Linked DNA regions of Homo sapiens: regions 1, 2, 3, 4, 6 and 7 are each linked to region 5. The links are contacts of gene promoters, found by promoter capture Hi-C in blood cells and fetal thymus (Javierre and others, 2016). All regions are on one chromosome and are shown on one strand. The core of a region is centred on a gene start or on the middle of the fragment in contact, and the rest is flanking DNA. Distances in the headings are between cores, read along the strand shown.

Region 1 (3,315 bases), core at 350-2,849, 460 kb after region 5:
GAAAATCAAATTGCCACCTCAGTCCCCAGGGCCCAGAGTACTCTTGTCTTCTTATATCCCAGGGACTGTCTGTGATCACTTAATGGGGCTGAACCTTTTCTGTTTTAATGTATTCTAGGGATGATGTGAGATTGAGGGAAAGACTCCAGCTGAACATCAAGAAATCAAGAAGACTTGTCCCCCAAATGCCCTCTGGGATACTCATAATGAAAATTAGGAATGGCTTAGGAAAGCATTCTGAGGAGGCCTAAAGGGACTCTCTGACTTAGACTATCCCTGGCACTCAGCACTTTTGTCTCCATGGGTCTTAGTCCCAGAGAAGTACTCTGGGGATGTTTCCAAGGCCTAGGAGGACGCTGTCTTCACCCCTAGTACCCCAATTACATATGTCTGCCATCTCCTCCTGAGGATACTGTGAGGCACAACCACAGGGAAACTTACTTTTCTGGAGCTGCAGAAGCCACATCCCGGTCATACAGTCTGGCCTGCCAGGGAAACAGGACGACACCTCGGTAGCCAAAAATGCTATGAAGGAAAAGCTGGAAGGAAAGAGGGGCCTCAGTGAGTCTGCAGTCCAGCAAATCCATCCAGGTGGGCCCCAGACCACAAAGCAACACAGGTGGAGGCAACTCCAGCACAAGGTCTTGCTACCTCTTCCCTTGAAGTCTGTGATCAACCAGACCAATGCTGGAACACTCTTATTTCTTCTTTACCTGGCTGACTCTACTCATCCTTTAGGTAAAAGCTTAGGCCTCCAGGAAGCCTTCCCTGACCTCCCTTCCACTTAGCACAATGTACAGCTATTGGCCATTTGCAAATCGTTCTTTTCTAGACTAGAAACTCCACAATAGCAGGAATCATGTCTACTTTGCTTTCTGATTTAACCCTAATGCACAATGCCTAGTCCATTGTAGGCACACAGAAAAATAAAATGTTGAACAAACAAAAAGTCTTCCTTACCTACAATATCCTAGAAGGGCCTAAATCTATCCCAGTGGACCCAGAACAAAGCTGATATAGAAAAAGAACCACACATCCAGAGTTTACCACACTGAAGTCAATTTTATTACGGCAAAGCATCAAAGGTATACTTTTCTGAAAGCTCCCTCCACGGCTTCCCACCATCCACTATGTTAGAGAAATCTTCAGCAACTTGGCTAAACCTCACTATAGTCCACACCATCCCTGTCCACATTAACTTGGAAAGAGAACCCACTGACACATTAAGTGCATTCAAATCCAGGAGAACAGAAACCCTATCTATAAAAATTTGATTCTGGGCTGGGTGCGGTGGCTCACGCCAGTAATCCCAGGACTTTGGGAGGCCAAGGCAGGTGGATCACCTGAGGTCGGGAGCTCGAGACCAGCCTGACCAACATGGAGAAACCGCATCTCCACTAAAAGTACAAAATTAGCCAAGTGTGGTGGCGCATGCTTGTAATCCCAGCTACTAGGGAGGCTGAGGTAGGAGAACTGCTTAAACCCAGGAGGTGGAGCTTGCAGTGAGCCGAGACCATGCCATTGCACTCCAGCCTGGGCAACAAGACTGAAACTCCGTCTCACAAAAAATAAATAAATAAAATAAATAAATAAAATAAAAAATGAATACAAATTTGATTCTGGAATGGCACCAAACATCAAGGTGGAATGAATGGAACACCATACCATGCAGGCCTGTGACCTAATCTGACTTTTTTCAGAAGCAGAGCACTCTATGAAAATGAAAGATGACCCAGCCCAATACTCACCTGCCCGGTCTCATATTTTCCATTCTGTTTTGGCACCTCAAACACACCAACTGTCTCCAACACTTTGCCCTCTGGTCGGTTTCTGAGTAGGAAGGAAAAGAACAAGCAACAGAAAAGCTGAGAAGGTAATGGTAGTTATCCATAAGAAAAAGCTCCTAGGATACTGAGGGGCCAGGGCGATGACAGCAGAGAAGGGTTTGGGGTAGTGGGACCAGCTGGAGCAGGAAAGGCTTTCCTCCTCCTTGGTGAAAACCTCCACAGTCTCCCAGTGTTAGATGTGACCGCTCCCATACTACTGTCTTCTCTCTTCACTGGGCATTCTTCATATCATGCCCTCACACTCTGCTCAAATGTACCCCTGCCCTTGTTTCTTCCCTAACCCACCCTCCTGACCTCCCACAGCACTTTAACTGTCTTGCTCACTTTTTCAATTTTTTTAGAAGGGGAGTATCTTTTTTTCTTCTTTTCTTACATTTTCTATATCACAAGTCATCAAACAATATCCTGCTCCCTTTACATTTCAGTTGTGTCCATGTCTTATCTTTATTAAATACTGTAAATTCCCTGGGAGCAATGCCTGAGTCTGATTAGCTGGTACTGCCCCCTCAGAGCCTAGTGTACAAGAGGTGCTCAAAAAATATTTGTCCTGTATTATAATTCCATGTCCATCTCCCCCTCTAACCTGTAGCCCTTACATTGCCCTTGAAAAGCTTAAACATCTCTAGATTTCCTACGGCACATCGCTCTCTCAATACCGTTTTTGTTCATATTCTCACAGGGGTCTTAAATTGCAAATAGCTATCATCTCTCCCCAATGTTCAGTGTCTAATATCAGCCACTAAAATGTCAGTCACCACTCTGAACAGGGCTGCTCTTTCTAGGGGCCCTTCAAATAAAGGCTGTTTTTACTGTTTTGAAGATGTGAACTTTATGCTTCCTCCCACTGATCCACCAGCCCATTTGATCCGCCTGTCCCATCCGTGGAAACAGTTTCCACACCATCCCCATGGCCTCAAACCCCCTTCCCCAAGTCACAGATAGAAAATCGATCTCCCCAAAGTCACTTGGAAACCTGGGGCCTACGAGGGTCCACACCCAAGAGTCTCGTTTCCCACCTCTAGCATCTTTCTGAGGCAGACCTTCACCAAATCCAAAGGCTGAGGGTTCAAGCCAATGCCCTAGGGCTGAATTAAAAAGCTTCCCTCTGACATCGGTGCTGGGGACCCCAGCCGGGGAAGTAGGATTCACTTGGGGAGGGTAACCTGTTCCCCCCCAGGGCCAGCCCTGTACAACCAGGGCTCTGGGCCGCGCTGGCTTCCCTGCTCCTGGCACATGTCCCAGACAGCGCAGGTCGGCTCCCTGCTCGGGACCCTCTCCCGGGTCAAACTCCAGTCACCCTCAGCAGGCCCGGGCCCCTGGCCTCCGCACTGGCTAGGAACACGCTCTCTGGGCTCCAGGCCCAGTTCCTCGCGCCCCCTGGCTCCGTCCCTCACCGGGACGAGAGGTGCCTCCGCGTCGTCGTGGTCGACGCTGGCGAGAAGGCTCCAGCTCCGGCCGCCGCACAGAG
Region 2 (3,413 bases), core at 755-3,254, 490 kb after region 5:
GCAGTAATGTCACCTGTGGAGGACATCACTTTTTTTTTTTAGACGGAGTCTCACTGTGTCACCCAGGCTGGAGAGCAGTGGTATAACCTCGGCTCACTGCAACCTCTGCCTCCTGGGTTCAAGTGTTTCTCCTATCTCAGCCTCCTGAGTAGCTGGGATTACAAGCGCACACCACTACACCTGGCTAATTTTTGTAATTTTAGTAGAGATGGGGTTTCACCATGTTGGCCAGGCTGGTCTTGAACTCCTGACCTCAAGTGATCCTCCTGCCTCAGCCTCCCAAAGTGCTGGGATTACAGGCATGAGCCACTGCGCCCGGCCATCTGTGGAAGACATCATTTGTGGAGGTCAGTAAGGCAGGAAGCCTGAACCTCTACCAGGATGTGGCAACTCTCCCACCTGCTCAGCAGGCCTCCAAGTTCTCTCTGTTGGATCTGTCCTCTCCACCACAGCCAGAGTGAATTTTCTAAAACCCAAATATGGCCAGGCCACTCCCCTCCCTGAGAGTTTTCAGTGGCTTCTCTTTGACATCAAGATAAACTACAAATGCCTTGAGGTGCCTCAAAAGGTCCCCAGGTCCGATCTCTTTTCACACTCTCCCCTTGAATCTTCTGCCTCAGCCATGGAAGTGTGGGCAGCTCCCCAAGTGCACCAGCTCTCCAACACCTCCAACTCTTTGCATATACCTGTGCCTGAAATGCAACTGAAATGCAATCTCTCCTTCTCCTCCTGACTAATGCCCACACTATTCTCTTGCCCTAACTCCATAAGGAACCATTCAGTATATCTAATGTGTATCTTTCTATCTGTGTTCTGCTAAAATCTTTAAATCTTTATTCTTGGTCTTGTGTGCATGTATTTTTAATGTATATTAATAGTGCTGTGTCATATAGCACATTCTATTTCTTACTTTTTCCCACTCAGTGTTGGGTTTTATTGGTTTTTTTGTTTTTGTTTTTGTTTTTTGTTTTTTGGGTTTTTTGTTTGTTTGTTTGTTTTGAGACAGGGTCTTGCTCTGATGCCCAGGCTGGAGTGCAGTGGCCCAATCATGACTCGCTGTAGCCTCAACCTACTGGGCTCAAACTATCATCCTGCCTCAGCCTCTCAGGTAGCTGGGACTACAGGCCTGTGCCACCATACATGGCTAATTTTTTTGATTTTGTAGAGACAGGGTTTTGCTATGTTGCCCAGGCTATGTTGTCCAGGTTCGTGTTGCTGTGTTATCACCTGCTCAGTCACTTGGACCTCCCTGCAAATCCTACAGAGTAGGCACCTGCCCATGTTACCTGACTCTCCCCAAGCTTGATACTGATTGCCTCCAACTTCCTCACACTACAAATGACACTGCAGTGAACATCCTTGTCTAAGTGCTTTTCTCTATCTATATGACAATCTCTTTGGGAGAGGTTGCCTGTATTGTTCAGCTTCTGATTTTGCCCATCTAACAGGTGTAAAGTGGTAGCTGGTTTTCTGTTTGCTTGTTTTCTGCCAGTGAACATTTTATTCAAGGTATGTGTGTGGAGAGTGGTCAGGGACAAAGGAGAGTGGGAATGGCCTTTGAAATAAAATAAAATGATTTAGGTGAAGAAACTCTAGGAAAGGGTAATTTTCTCCATTTAGATCTTTTTTTTTTTTTTTTTTTTTTTTTTTTTGAGACGGAGTCTCGCTCTGTTGCCCAGGCTGGAGTGCAGTGGTGCCATCTTGGCTCACTGCAAGCTCCGCCTCCTGGGTTCACACCAGTTTCCTGCCTCAGCCTCCTGAGCAGCTAGGACTACAGGCACCCGCCACCACGCCCGGCTAATTTTTTGTATTTTTAGTAGGGACAGGGTTTCACCATGTTAGCCAGGATGGTCTCGAGCTCCTGACCTTGTCATCCACCCGCCTCGGCCTCCCAAAGTGCTGGGATTACAGGCGTGAGCCACCGCACCCGGCCTAGATCATTTTAAGAAAGAAAATGACAGATAAGGTTTCTGGTCTATGGAACTAACAAACAAGTAGACTATTAATATAATATCAGATATTAAATGCCCTGAAGACAATAAAATAAGGTAATGAGTTAGAAAGTGATGGGGAAAAGCCTTTAGATTGGATGATTGGAAGGAAGTAACATTTGAGCAGACATTGGAATGACGAACCATGAAGCGGATTTTGTTGAAGAACATTTCAGGTAGCGATAGCTATTGTTTTAATTTTCATTTCTCTGATTACTAATGAGTTAGAGCATCTCTTTATCTGGTTTTTCAAATTTTGGATTTCCTCTTGTCAATTGCCTGTTTATGTCCTTTGCCCATTTTCTTTTGAATTTGTTGCCTTTTTCTTCTTGATTTGAATATTTGCTGATATATTCTACATATAAACCCCTCATTGATTTTTTTCTTTTCTTTTTTTTTTTTTTCTGTCTCTCTCTCTCTTTTTTTTTTTTTTCTTTTGACACAGGGTCTCACTTTGTTGTCCAGGATGGTCTCAAGTGAGCCTCCCACCTTGGCCTCCATGTGCCAGGCATTGTGCCAAGCATTCTACAGGCATGAGCCACCTTGCCCAGCCTGGTTTTATATTTTCCCTTTTTGGTTTTAGACATCGCAATACCTCTGGCATTCTTTCTATTCCTCAAACACGTCAGCTCCTCTGCCCTCAGGCCTTCATCCTTGCTCCTCTCTCTGCCTGTTATGCTCCTCCCAGATATTTGCACACAGGGATTTCTTCACATTAAGCTTAGATGTCACCTCTTCCCACATACCCCTCCTCCAGGCACACGCCATTACATCATCCTGTTTTGCTAGCGCCAAGGCCCTATCACTACGATCTGGTTCACTCATTGTTTTCTTGTCTATGTCTTCCTCCATCGCCCTGAGGATAAGCTCTGGCCAGTCTCTGTTAAACCTCAGCCCCTAGTGCAGTGGCTGGCACAGGGGACGTCCTCAGGAAGCATCTGTTGAATGAATGAATAGATATGCCCCGGTCATGGGCCATGGAGTGAGGAAAAGGCAAGGCTAAGAGTGGTGTGCTTCAAGTGACACTTCAAATTAGGACAAGTTAATATTTGTTGAGTTTTTACCATGTGCCAGGCATTGTGCCAAGCACTCTATAAGGCTTATCTCATTAGTCCTGATAATAATCCTATGAGGCAGGTATTTCTATTTTCTATTTATGAGATAAGGAAAGCAAGGTAGAGAGATAAAGGAAGCTGCCCAAAGGTCTCCTTTATCCCAGTTAGAAAACGGGCTGAGAAGAAACCAGGACCCAGGGGATCTGCTCCTGAGCTGAGGCTCTTAGCCACCACACATACTGCCTCTCAAGGGGAGGAGGGAGGGGGAGAACGGCTATGGCCAGAATAGAGCACCCTTAGAATCCGAGAAGTGGGGTCCTCCCAGGGGAGGAGATGAGGGTGGGGAGCAGGGAGGGGAATGCTCTCC
Region 3 (3,306 bases), core at 631-3,130, 420 kb after region 5:
AGTAGAATGACAGGCCATGTTTGGCCCGTTGGAAATGCCCACCACCCTTTGGGAAGATTTACTGGCCGTTTATAGAAGGCCTGTGTATATAATATGAAAAAGCTTCTCTCAACTCCACCCCAACCTTTTAATAGAAAATATTTGCCATATTTAGCCCTTCTATAGATGGAAAAAGCCACGCTGTTTTACTTTTATAAGCAATATTGCATTAAATTTTTAATAATGAAGAAAATCCTTCCTGGGTCGAGTGGGGACTTAGAGAACTTTTCTGTCTTACAAGAGGTTTGTAAAATGCACTCCCAGGCTTTTCAAGAAATTAAAAACAATCTCTTGACAGTTTCCAAAGCAACTATTCATCAAGATGATCTGCCTAGAGAGATAAACATACCCATATAATACTGTATTTGATCATAAGCAAGTTGTCACTGCAACTAAAATAAGTAAAAACAGTTTCAACAAATGATAGTTGCAGACAACTAAGAAGTTCTCTCTAATCATAGTTTTCACAGATCTCCCTGCTTCATTAGGAAGGAATAGCTCATAATTTGGTTCTAAATCAAAATGTCAATTTTCTGGTTCCCTTCTTGCAATACAGTATAGGGCATGAGGATTTGTGAGTCCCACAATGACCTAAGTCAAAAGACTAAAGACTTCAGTCTTTTGGTCTAGCCTAAATGAATTCAGTGTGTGGAATGATACGATAACCGGAATATTAACAAAAAGTTACTTTGCTTTCTCAAGGTAAAATTAAAATTCTAATTGAGGAATTGCACATGTACCCCAGAACTTAAAGTATAATAAAAAAAAAAAGGAAAAAAACTGGACTTCCCTGGGGAAAAATCCATTTGATGATGTGGCTTCATCGAGTATTCCTTTGTGAATTCCTGGATGAAATTTTCAAGGCAAACAGGAAAAGCACTGAAATTGCTGAATGGGTGAGCATTGTATGCCTGATTCATTAAATATATGCATTGGTAAATATATAAAAAAATTCTAATTGAATAAATAAAATTCAGTGATGGGGAACTCTAGCATGTAATTTGCCACATTGTATCATAAATGTTAAGTTTCTCTCACTAGACTCTGAAGTCCTCGAGGACAAGAACTAAGTCTTGTTTATCCTTTACAAACCTAATACTTAATATGGCAGCCAAACACTAGGGAACAATTAGGTGCTAACATTAAGTGGCAATGATGAACAAGTTCTAGAACAAGATGGTGGTGGTGATGGTCATACAATATTGTTAATGTACTTAATGCCACTAAACTATATACTTTTGCTTTAAGAGAAGGGGGTCTCGCTATGTTGCCCAGGCTGTCTTCAAACTCCTGGGCTCAAGGATCCCAGGCTCAGCCTCCTGACTAGCCGGAACTACGGGCTCCACTACACGTGGCTTGAATTATATACTTTAAAACAGTTAAAGTGATAAATTTTATTACGTGTATTTTACCACATAAAAATAATAAAAATAAAATTGTATGGCAAAGTCTATCCAAATGAAGAAAGGGGGAAAAAAGGAGAAAAATGGAATAGCAAGGGACAGGAGTATGTTTTCCAAAGACCAAAAAAAAATAAAAATTAAAAATAAAAAAATAAAAAAGGACTTATGAGTAGTTATTTCAGGAATAAGAAAAAGCACTCATCAACAAATGATTTTTAAAAAATTTAAAATAGCTATTAATCCTGAAAGTCTGTCTTAAATTAACCTCAATATTTTGTCCAATGATTTTTTTTAAATAACACCTGCTTCTTGGCATTTTAATTTCTACTACATTTAAAATTTTAAGTTAATTTAAAGGTGTTAATTGCAAAGTACTTCTAAATTACTAAATAATAAATATTCAAATACTGAGATTAGCTCAAACCTTATTATATTATAGAACACCAATGTACAGCCGAATATCAATTCTTTCACTCTACAGGTCTATACAATTTAATGATAAAAGAATAGACGAGGCACAGTGGCTCACGCCTGTAATTCTAGCACTTTGGGAGGCCGAAGTGGGAGCATTCATTGCTGGAGGCCAGGAAGTTGGACTTCAGCTTGGGCAACATAGCGAGACCTTGTCTCTACAAAAAAATTAGCTGGGTGTGGTGGCATGTGCCTGTATTCCTAGTCCTATAGTCCTAGCTACTCGGGAGGCTGAGGCTCCTGCCTCACTTCAGCCCAGGGGTTCAAGACTGCAGTGAGCTGATGAAGCCACTGCACTCAGGCCTAGGTGGCAAACCAAGAGTCTGTCAAAAAAAAAAATCCATCCTAAAAACAATAATTGTGTACTACTTTTTAAAAAGTAATTAAACCTTTAGTTTGTTTAGAGACAGAGTCTCTCTCTGCTACCCAGGCTGGAGTGCAGTGGGGCCATCATAGCTTACTGTAACCTTGAACTCCTGGGCTCAAGCAATCCTTCCACCTCAGCTAGGACAACAGGAATGTACCACCATGCCTGGATATGTTCTTGATTTTTTTTTTTTTTTTTTTTTGAGATGGAGTCTTGCTCCATCACCCAGGCTGGAGTGCAGTGGCGCGATCTCGGCTCACTGCATCCTCCACCAACTGGGTTCAAGCAACTCTCCTGCCTCAGCCTCCTGAGTAACTGGGATCACAGGCATGCGCCACCACAGCCAACTACTTTTTTTTCTTTTCTCTTTTTTTTTTTTTTTTTTTTTGGCCAGGCTTGTCTCAAACTCTTGATCTCAGGTGATCCGCCCACCTCAGCCTCACAGAGTGCTGGGATTACAGGCCTGAGCCACCGCACCCGACCTGTTTTTGATTTTTGTAGAGCGGTCTCACTCTGTTGCCCAGATGGTCTCAAACTCCTGGGCTCAAGTGATCCTCCTGCCTCTGCCTCTCAAAATTCTGGGATTACAGATATAAGCCATCAAGTCTGGCCTAGAATATTTAACTTAGGACAACTACGTGATGGTTTTTAAACAAAAAGAGAACTGCCCCCAAATGTATCACTATCAAAGATGATATAAAGCACAAACAGATTATTAGAGAACTACCAAGTAATTCTACAAAAAAGAAAATGGGCATCTTCTAGGAAAAACCATTTCAGCTCATCCCTACTGCATGAAAAATCACACAAGTTTTTCCAAACAGATAATGAGTCATTAGCAAAATCTTCTTTTAATCTTAGGCTTAAAGTTATTTTAGAAAACCCTTCTGTAGATTACAAACTACTGTCAGCAAATGCCAGGTTCCAAATAAGACACTTAACAAACTTCTAAATTTGTTAGCTAATTAACTTTTCAAATCATTCTGGATCTGTCAGATGCAATACAAATCAGGATTAATAATATAG
Region 4 (3,363 bases), core at 250-2,749, 390 kb after region 5:
TTATAAGGGTGTGTGTGTGTGTGTGTGTGTGTGTGTGTGTGTGTGTTGAGACATGGTCTCACTCTGTCACCCAGGCTGGAGCACACTGACATGGACAGGGCTCCCTGCAGCCTCAACTTCCTGGCCTCAAGTGATCCTCCCACCTAAGCTGCCCAAGTAGCTAGGAACAAGGGTGCACACCACCACACCAGGCTAATTTTTTTTTTTTTTTTTGTAAAGACAGGGTCTCACTATTGTAGCCCAGGCTGGTCTCAAACTCCTGAGATCAAGAGATCTTCCCACCTCAGCCTCCCAGTGTGTTGGGGATTATAGGCGTGAGCCACCGCGCCCAGCCTAGTTACAGTTTTTGTTTTTGTTTTTGTTTTAAGATAGTCTTGCTCTGTCGCCCAGGCTGGAGTGCAATGGCACAATCTTGGCTCACTGCAACTTCTGCCTCCAGAGTTCAAGCCATTCTCCTGCCTCAGTCTCCCAAGTAGCTGGGATTACAGGCATGCGCCACCATGCCCAGCTAATTTTTATATTTTTAGTAGAGATGGGGTTTCGCCATGTTGCCAGGCTGGTCTCAAACTCCTGACCTCATGATCCACCTGCCTCGGCCTCCCAAAGTGTTGGGATTACAGGCGTGAGCCACCGCACCCAGCCTATAGCTTTTAAACTGTTCCTGGAGACCTAGAACTCTGCTTCAATCAAAACAACTGAGTGGGCCGGGTGTGGTGGCTCACGCCTGTAATCCCAGCACTTTGGGAGGCTGAGGCGGGTGGATCACCTGAGGTCAGGAGTTCGAGACTAGCCTGGCCAACATGATGAAACCCTGTCTCTACTAAAAAATACAAAAATTAGCTAGGCGTGGTGGCTCATGCCTATAATCCCAGCTACTGGGGAGGCTGAGGCAGAAGAATCGCTTGAACCCAGGAGGCAGAGGTTGCAGTAAGCCAAGGTCACGCCATTGCACTCCAGCCTGGGTGACAAGAGCGAAGCTCCGTCTCAAAAACAAAAACAAAAACAAAAAAAACACTGTGTGGGCTTCCCTTCTCTTTCATATACTGAAGTTCAACATTAAAAAAAAATTTTGAGGTGGTTTCTTCTGTTAAAGAATGCATGAAATCCACTATGCCATAGACACAATCTGCTCCAATTAGCTATGCCTACTCTTTGTCAACTGCAATTACTGTGTATACATCAGTATCTCCTGTCTTTGGTAATACCTATTCCTCTCTCCTCAGGACTTCTTTCCGAAGTCATCCCTAGTCACTCTTCTTTTGAACCCTTATAGCATTTTATTTTTATTATTTAGAGACAAGGTCTTGCTCTGTTGCCCAGGCTGCAGTGCAGTGGCATAATCATAGCTCACGGTAACCTTCAAATCCTAGACACAAGCAATCTTTTTACCTCAGCCCCCCAAGTAGCTAGGACCATAGGTGTGCACTACCTTGCCTGGCTAATTTTTAGATGGGGTCTCACTATGTTGCCCAGGCTCAAACTCCCAGGCTCAACTGATCCTTCTGCTTTAACCTTTTGAGTAGCTAGGACTACAGGCACATGCCACTGGAACTGCAACTTCTTTTCTGATTATTATTTTTTCTTGACTTAACTCACATTTAAGGTCTTTTAATTTATCCTTTAAATGTGATGATCTCTGTACTAGGAAACAAGTAGTCCCTTTATATACAGCATGCAAGTTCCCCATTCTCATTCCCTCTCCTCTCCTGCAATCCCTTTCATCCTCATATTTATTTTAATTTTTGTAGAGACAGGCTCTCGCTATATTGCCTAGGCTACTCTTGAACTCCTGTCCTCAAGCAATCCTCCTGCTTTGGTCCCCCACAGTGCTGGGACTGCAGGTATGAGCCACCACGTCCGGCCCTTTCCTTTTCTATTTTATCCCTAAAACCTAACCTCTTACTGTTGACAGCCAATTCTGACTAATCTTGTTTATTATCTGGGCCTCTTTTCTATTGTTTATATTTATTCCATTAAAAAGGTCAAAGACTCTATAGAGCCCATACCTTATTAAATCTGGTTTGTAAATAACTAAAATTATGCTTGCCTTTGGCAACTGAATAAAGACTCCAAGGCCCATTTAATTAGCAAAAAAACAGAGATTACAGCTATATGCTCCTTCAGCTACGCCAGCTCTCTGTATAACTCAGCCTTTCTGACAATCCATACCTTGCTTTGTGATTTGGGGGAGCTGCATGTTTGCTATCCTACCACCTACCTATTCCTATTTTCAGTATCAGCTTTTCCTGAGAAGGGAAAAGGTATGAATATTGATTTCAAAGTCAGGCTTATGTTTGAATGGCAGAGACTCAGTAGCTGTATAAACTTTCCAAAACTTTCAATTTATAAAATGAGCATACTAATATCTATTTCATTAAATGAGACAATGCAAAACATCTAGACTCTAGATCAATATTTGGCACATAATAAATATTAAGCATTATTTCCTTTTTACAAAGGAAAATATGAATTGAAAAGGAAAAGTAAGGCCAGGCCCGGTGGCTCACGCCTGTAATCCCAGCACTTTGGGAGGCCAAGGCGGGCCAATCACTTGAGGTCAGGAGTTCAAGACCAGCCTGGCAACATGGTGAAACCCTATCTCTACCAAAAATATAATAAATTAGCTGAGTGTGCTGGTGTGTGCTTGTAATCCCAGCTACTTGGGAGACTGAGCCAGGAGAATCACTTGAATCTGGGAGGCAGAGGTTGCAGTGAGCCGAGATGATGCCACAGCACTCCAGCCTGGGCAACAAGAGTGAAACTCCATCTCATAAAAAAATAAAGAAAGAAAAGGAAAAGGAAGATACAAAGACAACTTAGCTTCTGCAAAGTCTATTCAGAAAAATGTATCTATGTCACTATAATATTAATAAAAATATTTTCTCAAAGAATGATGTTTCTTAAGAAATTAGTAAAATATTGATACTGATTGATTGAGACAGGTCTTGCATAATTTATTTATAGAGACAGGTCTAGCTCTGTTGCCCAGGCTGGAATGCAGGAAGTGCAGTGGCCCATCACAGCTCACTACAACCTCCAGTACCAGGGCTCAAACAATTCTCTCCCCTCAGCCTCCCAAGTAGCTAAGACTACAGGCATGTGCCATTGGGCTTGGCTAATTTTTCTATTTCTGTTGAGACAGGGTCTTGTTATGTTGTCCAGGCTGGTCTTGAATTCCAGGCCTCAAGTTACCCTCCTGCCTCAGCCTCCCAAAGTGCTGGGATTACAAGTGTGAGCCACCACACCAGGTCAGAAGTTAGTGCAATATTAATTAGCATTCTAATTTAACCATAAGGCCTAAATTGTAACATTACATGTTTCTATTCTATTGTATTGAATTCAAATCTAGTTTTCTGCCTGTAA
Region 5 (3,130 bases), core at 335-2,834:
TGGTTGACTTCTCTGGACTTCTGCTTCCCCCACTGTAAACTGGAGAAAAGAATAACCCACCTCACAGGGGTTTTGTAAAGACCAACCTAGCTAACTTATGGAAAGTGCCTAGCACAGGGGCTGGCACATCTTAAGTGCTTGAACATCTTTTTTTTTTTTTTTTTGTCCTGAGACAGGGTCTCACTCTGTCACCCAGGCTGGAGTACAGTAGCATGATCAGGGATCACTGCAGTCACAACTGCCCGGGCTCAAACGATTCTACCTCAGCCTCTCAAGTGGCCGGGATCACAGGCACACGCCACCACGTCTGGCTAATTTTTTTAATTATTTATAGAAACGAAGTCTTACTATGTTGCCCAGGCTGGTCTCAAAATTCTAGGCTCAAGTGATCCTCTTTCCTCAGCCTCCTACGGTGCTGAGATTATGGGCATGAGCCACTGCGCCCAGCGTTGAACATCTTACCCTTTCCTACTTTATTTGGCTTTCTGTTCCTTGCTGACTGTAAGCTTCTGAAGAACAAGAAACTATACTGTATTAGTTCAACACCTGTGAAATGAAGGGAAATTAGTAAGAAAAATATATATACGGTTATTAGTCACTCCTCCACAGTTTATAGTACCTGAACCATAACAGAAGTTCCATAGATGTCAATTGATTCCCAAGTTACCAGAGGAAACTAAAGCCAGCAGGAAACTGTCCTGAAGTCAAGAACCTATGGCAGGTGAACCCAGAAAACATTACGCTAAGTGAACAAACCCAGTCACAAGGGGCTACTTAATGTATGATTCCATTTATACGAAACATCCAGAATAGGCAAAAGTACAGAGACAGAAGTACATTGGTGGTTGCCTAGGGCTGGGAGAATGGGAGTAGATGGGAGGGGGGAGTGACAGCTAAAGGAGGTGTTTCTTTTGGGGGGTAATGTTCTAAAACATTATGGTGACAGCTGCACAACTCTGCAAACACACTAAAAGACACTGAATTGTGCACTTTAGATGGGTGAACTGTATGCTTCGTGAATTATATCTCAATAAAACTTTTTAAAACAATAACCACAAAAAGGATCAATCCTAGGAGCGAAAGGGTTTTGGCCACGGAGCAACTTGCTCTTACGCAGAAGCATAAATCATCACGACAAGGTTGCTCCGGCCACCGGGTGCCGCGGGCAGAGGGACGGTGGAGGGGACATTCTCCTTTTAAAAGTGGCCAGGCCCGTGAGCCTCTGAGAGGCTGGCCTCCGGGCTGCCCCGGACCTCGCGCCCCTAGCTCGCGCTGCAGGCCTTTCCTGCTCCTCCGAGGCCGCCCGGCCAGGCCTGCGTCAAGCCCGGGCGCCGCGCTCCGGTGCACTCAGCTCTCCGGTGGAAGAGCGCAGACCGCAAGGGAAAAGGTGCCGGCGCGGGTCGCCCCTAGGTCTTCAATAGATCCGAGGACACCCGAGGCCTCCACATCCCTAGCCCGCCCCCGCCACCCAGTGGCTCCGGCCGCCGCTGCCCCCGCGCCCCCGCCCTCGGCCTCGGCCTGCGCAGCGCGGCTCACCAGCCTCCAGGGGAACGCCAGCCCCGGACGCCGCCGCGGCGACGAGTGCGCCTGCGCCCCGGGGACTGAGCGGCACCGCCCCTGCCCGGCGACGGTGAGCCCAGCGCCCTCTGCCGGCCGCGCGCGGGACTCGGGGTCCTACTGGGTGCCTCTTCCTAGATCCGACCCCACCCAGTTGAAAGCTGTCCCCACTAACAGCCTTCGTTACCTGTTACCTCAAACACCCACTCTGCCTTCTGGCTGTTGCTACGCCGGATATAAGCCCTAAAGGCACTCTCTCCTCCTTATTCCTGAATATGGATTGTGCTATGAATATGGGGTGTTCAAGATCTCTGAAAGGCTTGCTGGAGGACTTTTCCTGAACCTCTCGTGTTGATGACAAGAATTGTGTTTGGATAGGAATCTGCGTTTTGAATCATTTCACCAAATTACAGTCCCATAACACCTGTCAAAAGAATAAATATGACAGTAATAAGCATGCTTCCTTTCAGACCCATCTATAATTATAATTGAGGAAAATAATACAAAATTTAAACTTAGAGCTACTGCCAGTATCATTCTTTGAAAATGAAATAATGCTGTTTATTAAATAGGCTCTCCCTGCTCTCTAATGTTTAAAGCTCAAGTGCTTCTCTGAATTGATTTAAATACAAGTTTTATATCCTGAAAGAAATCAAGATGAGTCATTATCTTAAGACAAACCCCCCTGTTCAATGATGCTGCTGATCTCTCAGCTGATGTCTAAGCGGGAGTTAGGTTGTTAGTGGATAATATTGCTTCTGTTCACGTCTCTCTTCTCCAGGGCTTTTTAAACCTGTTTGTAACGAAAAGGCTGATTTCCTTCAGACTCCATGTGTCGTTGATTTAACAGGACAACTTCTTACAGGTTTTTCTTTTTCCTTTTTCTTTTTTTTTTTTTAAGTAAAACATTGCTCCCCGGTGGCACCTGGGAATCTGTTTTTCTTCTCTTAGGATAAGAGAAGCAGGGATATTTCTTAACGGAAGTTTTGTTTTGTTCCTAACTCCCTTTAGAGCTTCCTCTTTTCTTTTTTTTTCTCTTCACCTAACATACTAGACTTCCCTCAAATCGGGGGTGGGGGATGGGAAGGTGGGGTTCCCTCCCTTGAAATATTCAGATAATTGCTTCCATTTATTTTAAAGATGTAGACTTGGACAAATATATCTGAAAGATACAATTGTACCCTCATAAATCAGCCCTCTTATTTACACATGCATAATCAAGGGCACGTCATTAATGCAGAGCCAATCAATAAATCATTAAGCTTTTAAAGCCCTTATTAAGAACAATCTGCAGTAACATCATCCACTCCTGTGCTCAGTCTTAGGATCATTTAATAATTTTAAGAAATTTCACAGTCTGTTCTGTAGTCTCATCTCCCTTTTGTTCCTAGATAGCTGTATTCCTGCATCAGAAACATGGTTCTAATACCTAGATCTCATAAAATATTGAAGATGCAAGCTGTTTGCTTTACCTCTGAAAGGCTCCACCTTCAGAATCACTTGTGCCTCTTCCAATTTTACAAACGCACAAGATTTTAACTTTCACAACAATTTCTTATAAACATCCAAATAC
Region 6 (3,148 bases), core at 376-2,875, 440 kb after region 5:
GAACATGGCCTGTTTGACATGTTCATGAGTCACCTGACCCACAGCATATATGCTTATGACTAAACCCTCCACTCCTGATTCTCAAGAGTGTATCACCTGTCAGCAAAATGAATAGTGGGATATTTTGGGCCATTTTAAATGTGAAATTTTGCCTCTTTAATGTTAATTCAAAACTATATCAATGTTTTCTTGTTCCCACCTCTAACCCAAGGAAAAAAGAGAAAACATACTATGCAAAGGAAGTTTAAACTTAAGTTTTCCTTAAGGGTCAGCCCAACAATGACTTTCAGTCAAATGGATTAAACTGGAAAATGTTTTTGTTTCTGTTGTAAACAGATCATCCTAGGCGAAAGTTTTTTTTGTTTGTTTGCTTTTAAATTAGTTTATTTCTAAATCTTAGTCTTCCACATTTCTAGAGGCCACCTGACACAAGTCCCTGTATCTGAAGTCTAGCATCTCAAGGCTGATCTGGAAGTGTGCTAGTATGCTCCCTAGTGGATAACTTAATCTTTTAATACAGTTCCGTCATTCCCATCTTGTTTTCAGAAGAGAAGGTGGCTACAGCCAGGCATAACATATCCACTGTGTGCATAGAGGGTCTCTTCACGTTGATGCTTGGCATTCCATCAGCTTTCTCTAAGTCTTTGCTCAAGTTCAACCTTAAAATGATGTTAGACAACAGGTCCCAGTCAGTTCCCTCTATTTTCACCCATTTTGCTCACAAGCCATATTGGCCCGATTAGTGGTACTGTCTGACTCACGTGTGTGATCCAAATAAAGGTAGCTGCTGACCACTGCCTGGTTTGTTTTGTGGACTAGGGGATAGAGAATCCAGGGTTCTCTCATGAGGAGTTAAACATATTTCAAGAGCAACAGGAAAAAAGGTACATCAAGCCATTTGAAAACAAAAATTTATTGCTTCTCCTTCCAAAGCTTTGTGAATTTACAAAAAAAAGGATGAAAGTTTACAAACTGCTTAGTTCCAACTAAGCATAAGAGGTGAGAACGTACACTGCAGGGCCACCAGCAGCAGCTGTGCACTGATGTTAAAACTGGCTCCCCCAGACTTGTAGTGCTGTCTTCAGGGGGCTGCATTCCTTACACGCCACCTCTTGTGACATAGGTCATTGGTCAAGCCGCTGGAATGCTACAGAGGTTTTTTTGGTTTTGAGAGGCTTTTTTTTGTTTTGCCTTCCTACTATAAAAGCGAAATTTTCAGTTCATTTCTGAAAAATAAATTGGTCAATAAATTCATTTTGTTCTGCTTCTACTTTACACAAAGCTTCATATTCAACCCGATACCTGAAAAACAAAATTGTTAGAGGCCCTGAAAAAAAGATGAAGTAAACCACAGACCTAATTCTTCTAGAGAAGGATATAGAGGTTTAAATGATTTCAAGAAATGGTGTGAGTTCAGAATGAAGAAAGAAAGAGGCAAAGCCCTACCCAGAGCCACCCATGAGAAATCTCCAGCCCTAGGAAAGTCTTCTTTCAGAGAGCCAGCCAACTTCGTGGACCCTTTCATGCTCAAACTACTAGAGGTGGTTTGATATTAACAAGTTTTCTATTTCCTTCCCATCAAATGTAATTTTATTTTTTAAAATCTTCAAATCAGGATGACAAGTGAGATGCTATTCCTGGGAAAACAATGATGAAGAATAAGGACAAGAAGTGATCATTCCAGAAGGAAGAGTGGAAATTCAGCTGTGTAAAGAACTTGCTTTACATCATGACTTCTTACCTTTCTAGCTGCATTTTCTTTTCTGCTATTAGGGCTTGAAGTTGCTGCTGTTGAGCTTCTCTCTGCTTTGCTATAGATTTGAGCAAGTTCCGAGCACCGATGGCCTACAGTATTGCCAGAGAAGGCCATGGCTTCATTAAAACCATCTACAGCATCAAGTCCTCAAAGTGGGGAGGGGTTATCTGGGAGCTGTGTCAGTCTTCAGAGAGGAAAAGAAAGTGGAGCCCCAAAGCTTTTGGGTTAAGTCAGAAGGATTAACCTACTGATCACAAAGTGCCTCAAGAACTAGACGGCAGCTTTGAGGCAGGTCTAGGAGTATTCCTAGAGCCAGGGACACAGGCACAATAGCACATTTGGTGGTGCCATTCAGCCTTGTGCCTTTCACCAATCATACTATGTAAGCCTTCATTTCTTCATTTATAAAATGAGGATAAGACCATCTACATCAGTGCTGATATGAAGATGAAACGAGGCCAGGTGTGGTGGCTCACACCTGCAATCCCAGCACTTTGGGAGGCCAAGGTAGGCAGTTCACTTGAGGCCAGGAGTTTGCAACCAGCCTGGCCAACATGGTGAAACCCCATCTTTACTAAAAATACAAAAAAATGGCCGGGCGCAGTCACTCACGCCTTAATCCCAGCACTTTGGGAGGCTGAGGCGGGCGGATCACCTAAGGTTGGGAGTTTGAGACCAGCCTGACCAACATGGAGAAACCCTGTCTCTACTAAAAATACAAAATTAGCCAGGCATGGTGGCACATGCCTGTAATCCCAGCTACTCGGGAGGCTGAGGCAGGAGAATCGCTTGAACCCAGGAGGCGGAGGTTGCAGTGAGCCAAGATCGCACCATTGCACTCCAGCCTGGGCAACGAGAGAAAACTCCGTCTCAAAAAAAAAAAAAAAAATACAAAAACCTCAGCTGGGTGTGGTGGCACACACCTGTAGTCCCACCTACTCGGGAGGGTGAGGTGGGAGAATCGCTTGAATCTGAGAGGCAGAGCTTGCAGTGAGCCGAGATTGCACCAGTGCACTCCAGCCTGGGTGACACAGCAAGACTCTGTCTCAAAAAAAAAAAAAAAATAAAGATTAAAGGAAATAAAGATTGGCAAAAGTTCAGTAGGTTAAGTGGACCAGAAGTTATTAAAATCTTAAATAAAAATTCACCCACCCAGCCCTCTACCCCTCTAAATAAATCAAGAGGGAAGAGGGATGAGAGGGTAGTGAACTAGGGTCCCAGGCCAAGATGTAGGCGGAAGACATGCTGATCTTACCTTCATCTTTTCATTTTCTGCTTCTTTTGCAAGTTGATCAACAAGCTCAATTAAACCACCAACTATTTTCTGAAACTGGCCAATTTCTTTTAGGAAAAGAACAAAAAATAAAATATTTCCTTAGTATCATCACTCCC
Region 7 (3,066 bases), core at 520-3,019, 440 kb before region 5:
TGGATCAATGACTCTCAATGGGAAAGGCCAGGGGTTAGGGAGGAACCTCCTTGCATTTGGAAAATCTCGAGGAGGGGTTAATTTGCAAAAACAAGTTTTAAAGTTATAGTTTTGCTTCCTAGACCTGATTTTTAAAAATTTATTATTTTTTTTAGAGACAGGGTCTTGTCACATTGCCCAGGCTGGTCTCGAACTCCTGGCTTTAAGTGATCCTTCCCCCTTGGCCTCTCAAAAGTGCTGGCATTACAGGCATGAGCCACGGTGCCCAGCCCTTAATTTATTTCGAAGGCTGGTGTAATATAAACATTAAAGGAAGGTGTAATACAAACTGCCATCCATTATTGATTGTTTTAGTGTCTACAAGGTTTGGATCCCACCTCCTGTCCAATTCTCATCCTCAAACACAAAAACAAAACCAAAAAAACAACTGTCTATCTACACACACACACACACCCTCGGCTGGCCTGAGAGGTAAAAGAAACATCCCATAGGACCTGCTGAAAGAGCTCCTGAGGCACGCTGGAGCCTTTCTTGTGTGCCATGCACTGTATCTGGCACTATAAAGAGGGTACAATAGCTAGTGGCTTCTGCAATCAAGCAGCTTACAAGAGAAAATTGAGAGGGGAGACATTTTTTCTGGTTGACAGATGTCGAAAGCATGAAGGTGTGGGAGCTTTGATCAGAGACTTGGTTTTTCAGTTTTGCCAGATAATAGAACGCATGGGGTGAACTAATGGGAGAGGAGGGTGAACAGATGGGCAAGGCTTGATTGCTGGGTTAGGAGGCACAGAAATGCACAGAGGACAAAGGACTACCAGTCCTTGGCAGTACTGTACTGCTCCATGGCCACTACCTGGGTCCAGGGCCACATTCAGATCTGAGGTTAGATAGTAAGAATTGCTAACATTTATCCAGCGACCACATGTGCCAGTAATCAATCTAGGTGCTGTACATGTATTAACTGATTCTTCATAGGAACCCTATTAAAGAGTTATTTGATGAGGAGAGTCGGGCATTCACTGGAAATCGAACGTGCCCAAAGTCTCACCCTAGACCGTGGTGGAGTCAGAATTTGAATCCTGGCCACTTGCTCCGAAGCCACCGACAATTCAGTGTGCTGTCCCCCGTGTCTGGGCTGGCTTGGTGGGCTGGGAATGGCGGGGGAATGGGACACTTATTTTGGCAGGTAAATGTGGTTCAGAAGAAAGCTCTTCGTCTTTCTCCAAGCCTGAGCAATCGTTTTGGCGCAGGCAGTCCAGAGTAGAGCGCTTTGTGAGCCAGCTACAGAAGTGCTGTAAGCCCCTTCCCACTAGATGGCAGCCCCTAAACCCACATACAAATCCTGGAACCTCCCTGGTCCCCATCTTCCAGGGCTGGGCTGCAGCTGAGGAACTGCGGGACGCACACCCGCCGGGCGTCCAGGGGGCGCCGCCCCATCCGGGGGTCGCGGGAAGCTCCTAGGCCGGGTGGGGGACGGAGGCGGACGGGGAGACGCTGCTCCCCCGACTCTCGGCGCCTGGGGGAGGAGCTGGCGCGGAGCAGCTCCACCCGGGGCTCCCGGTTGGGGCCGGCCCTCACCGCCTGCCTCGCCGCGGCCGCCGGGAGGGGAGGGGAGAGGAGGGCAGGGAGGGCGGCGCGGGCGCGGTCCGGGGCCCCGAGGGCGGAGGCCGGCGGCAGGTGCGCGGCGTGGACTACAAGTCCCAGCATGCCCGGCCGCCCTGACCCAGCCCCCGCCGCCGCTTAAAGGCTCCGGGAGCCGCAGCCGTCGGGTCGCCGCGGCTTTCGCTTTGCTGCCGCGGCTGGGAGGGTGGAAGCGGCAGACTCAGCGGCCGGCTCTACCGGCGTCCCGGCTCGGGCAGCGCCGAGGGGCGCTCCTGGTCCAGCTCTCCTGGCTCGGGGGTTCCTTGCCGAGGCGCCCGCGCCCCGGGCTCCCAGCCTCGGCCGCCGCGGCCCCGATGCCGAGGCATGGATAGAGCAGCGCTGCGCGCGGCGGCGATGGGAGAGAAGAAGGAGGGCGGTGGCGGGGGGGATGCGGCGGCCGCGGAGGGAGGCGCAGGGGCCGCGGCCAGCCGGGCGCTGCAGCAGTGCGGGCAGCTCCAGAAGCTCATCGACATCTCCATCGGCAGCCTGCGCGGGCTGCGCACCAAGTGCGCTGTGTCCAACGACCTCACCCAGCAGGAGATACGGACCCTGGAGGTAAGTGGGTCGGGGACCAGGCTGGGCTCGAGGAGCGGGCCCGGACACCTCCCTCCGGGCCCCAGTACTCCTGGCCGAGTTGCATCCTTGAGCCCGCGTCGCCCCCCTTGGAGGCTTCCCCTCCCTCCTGCACTCGCTGATGCGGCAGCCGGAGGACCCGGGACCAGCCCTCATCTTGGGCAGGATTTGTGGGGCGGGTGCGTCGTGGGAACTGGGATGGAGGCTCGAGGGGCCCGTGCGGGGTGGGCTGCGCGCGGACATCCCCTTTCCCCCCTTCTCCGCCCCCACCCCATTTCCAGTTTGCGGGGCCGCAGGACTCGTTGTCCCACCGAGTCACAAGCTGGACTTTTCCCCGTGTGACTGAGCCGAGCACCCGTGGGCCAGGGTGACGGAGGAGGTTCCCCTGAAGCGTGATCGCAGGCCTGCCGTCCCCTGTTCCCCTCACGCCCCAGACGCCGTCCTGTCCCTTCCTTTCCTCTCCTCTCAGGTCTTGTCTGCCGCCTTTTCAAAAAGTGTTGCTGAAACTGCATTTTTGTTATTCAGGCGTTTGGTGCTTTCCTTTCACGTTGCCACGGAGGCTCGCTGCTTAAAATGTATTAATAATTACCCGCTGACTCCCCCTGCTTCCCCCCAAAGATTGGATTTAGGCTTAGGAAGGATTATGCTGGGAAGCAAGCCTTTGGTGGGAAGATGAAACTGTTTAAAGGGTTCTGATGGAGACAGTCTGGAGTGTAAAGAAGAAATAAGATATGCGGGCCTTCCTCTCTCAAATTATAGCTGGGGAAGTATCTGAAGGATTTGGAAAAACCAGCCCGAGGGTTGTTGGGGCACCCTGTCCATACACAAATGAGGGCAACTAGTGGATTCTGA

Evidence for each region. Contacts are between HindIII fragments. The CHiCAGO score rates a contact against its expected background, and 5 or more counts as called.
Region 1: a contact is called between a fragment that was not itself captured here and the fragment with the promoter of LYRM9 in region 5, in 2 of 17 cell types (erythroblasts and naive B cells). The highest score is 7.6, in erythroblasts.
Region 2: a contact is called between a fragment that was not itself captured here and the fragment with the promoter of LYRM9 in region 5, in 1 of 17 cell types (erythroblasts). The highest score is 5.0, in erythroblasts.
Region 3: a fragment that was not itself captured here is called in contact with the fragment with the promoter of LYRM9 in region 5 in 5 of 17 cell types (erythroblasts, M1 macrophages, M0 macrophages and 2 more); the score reaches 12.1 in erythroblasts.
Region 4: a fragment that was not itself captured here is called in contact with the fragment with the promoter of LYRM9 in region 5 in 6 of 17 cell types (M2 macrophages, erythroblasts, M1 macrophages and 3 more); the score reaches 9.3 in M2 macrophages.
Region 6: a contact is called between a fragment that was not itself captured here and the fragment with the promoter of LYRM9 in region 5, in 4 of 17 cell types (erythroblasts, endothelial precursors, M0 macrophages and 1 more). The highest score is 7.8, in erythroblasts.
Region 7: a contact is called between the fragment with the promoter of KSR1 here and the fragment with the promoter of LYRM9 in region 5, in 3 of 17 cell types (monocytes, M1 macrophages and M0 macrophages). The highest score is 7.7, in monocytes.

What each region holds. Positions count from the first base shown.
Region 1 is chr17:28,354,047-28,357,361 of GRCh38, forward strand. POLDIP2 (DNA polymerase delta interacting protein 2) reads right to left here. Exons shown (of 11, transcript NM_015584.5): 1 at 3,242-3,315; 2 at 1,749-1,830; 3 at 442-539. Among named protein-coding and RNA genes, the nearest start is that of POLDIP2, 1.8 kb to the right of the region's middle. RefSeq lists an enhancer at 2,881-3,315 and a silencer at 3,179-3,315. The HindIII fragment of the contact is 1,713 bases long and covers 744-2,456 here.
Region 2 is chr17:28,377,677-28,381,089 of GRCh38, forward strand. The region is part of intron 1 of SARM1 (sterile alpha and TIR motif containing 1); the gene reads left to right. Among named protein-coding and RNA genes, the nearest start is that of SARM1, 7.7 kb to the left of the region's middle. RefSeq lists a silencer at 2,380-2,580. The HindIII fragment of the contact is 1,410 bases long and covers 1,300-2,709 here.
Region 3 is chr17:28,307,489-28,310,794 of GRCh38, forward strand. No RefSeq gene overlaps it. Among named protein-coding and RNA genes, the nearest start is that of TMEM97, 10 kb to the right of the region's middle. The HindIII fragment of the contact is 3,560 bases long and covers 101-3,306 here.
Region 4 is chr17:28,284,737-28,288,099 of GRCh38, forward strand. It overlaps the pseudogene KRT18P55. Among named protein-coding and RNA genes, the nearest start is that of TMEM97, 33 kb to the right of the region's middle. The HindIII fragment of the contact is 9,556 bases long and covers 1-3,363 here.
Region 5 is chr17:27,891,781-27,894,910 of GRCh38, forward strand. LYRM9 (LYR motif containing 9) reads right to left here and starts at 1,585. Exons shown (of 4, transcript NM_001076680.3): 1 at 1,537-1,585. RefSeq lists a silencer at 1,217-1,766. The HindIII fragment of the contact is 2,313 bases long and covers 505-2,817 here.
Region 6 is chr17:28,327,432-28,330,579 of GRCh38, forward strand. TMEM97 (transmembrane protein 97) reads left to right here. Exons shown (of 3, transcript NM_014573.3): 3 at 1-1,254. IFT20 (intraflagellar transport 20) reads right to left here. Exons shown (of 5, transcript NM_001267776.2): 3 at 3,012-3,097; 4 at 1,742-1,845; 5 at 895-1,302. The coding sequence ends at 1,221. Among named protein-coding and RNA genes, the nearest start is that of IFT20, 6.5 kb to the right of the region's middle. The HindIII fragment of the contact is 691 bases long and covers 1,281-1,971 here.
Region 7 is chr17:27,454,679-27,457,744 of GRCh38, forward strand. It overlaps KSR1 (kinase suppressor of ras 1), which reads left to right and starts at 1,770. Exons shown (of 21, transcript NM_001394583.1): 1 at 1,770-2,196. The coding sequence starts at 1,966. RefSeq lists silencers at 1,300-2,059, 2,580-2,629 and an enhancer at 1,435-1,936. The HindIII fragment of the contact is 16,082 bases long and covers 1-3,066 here.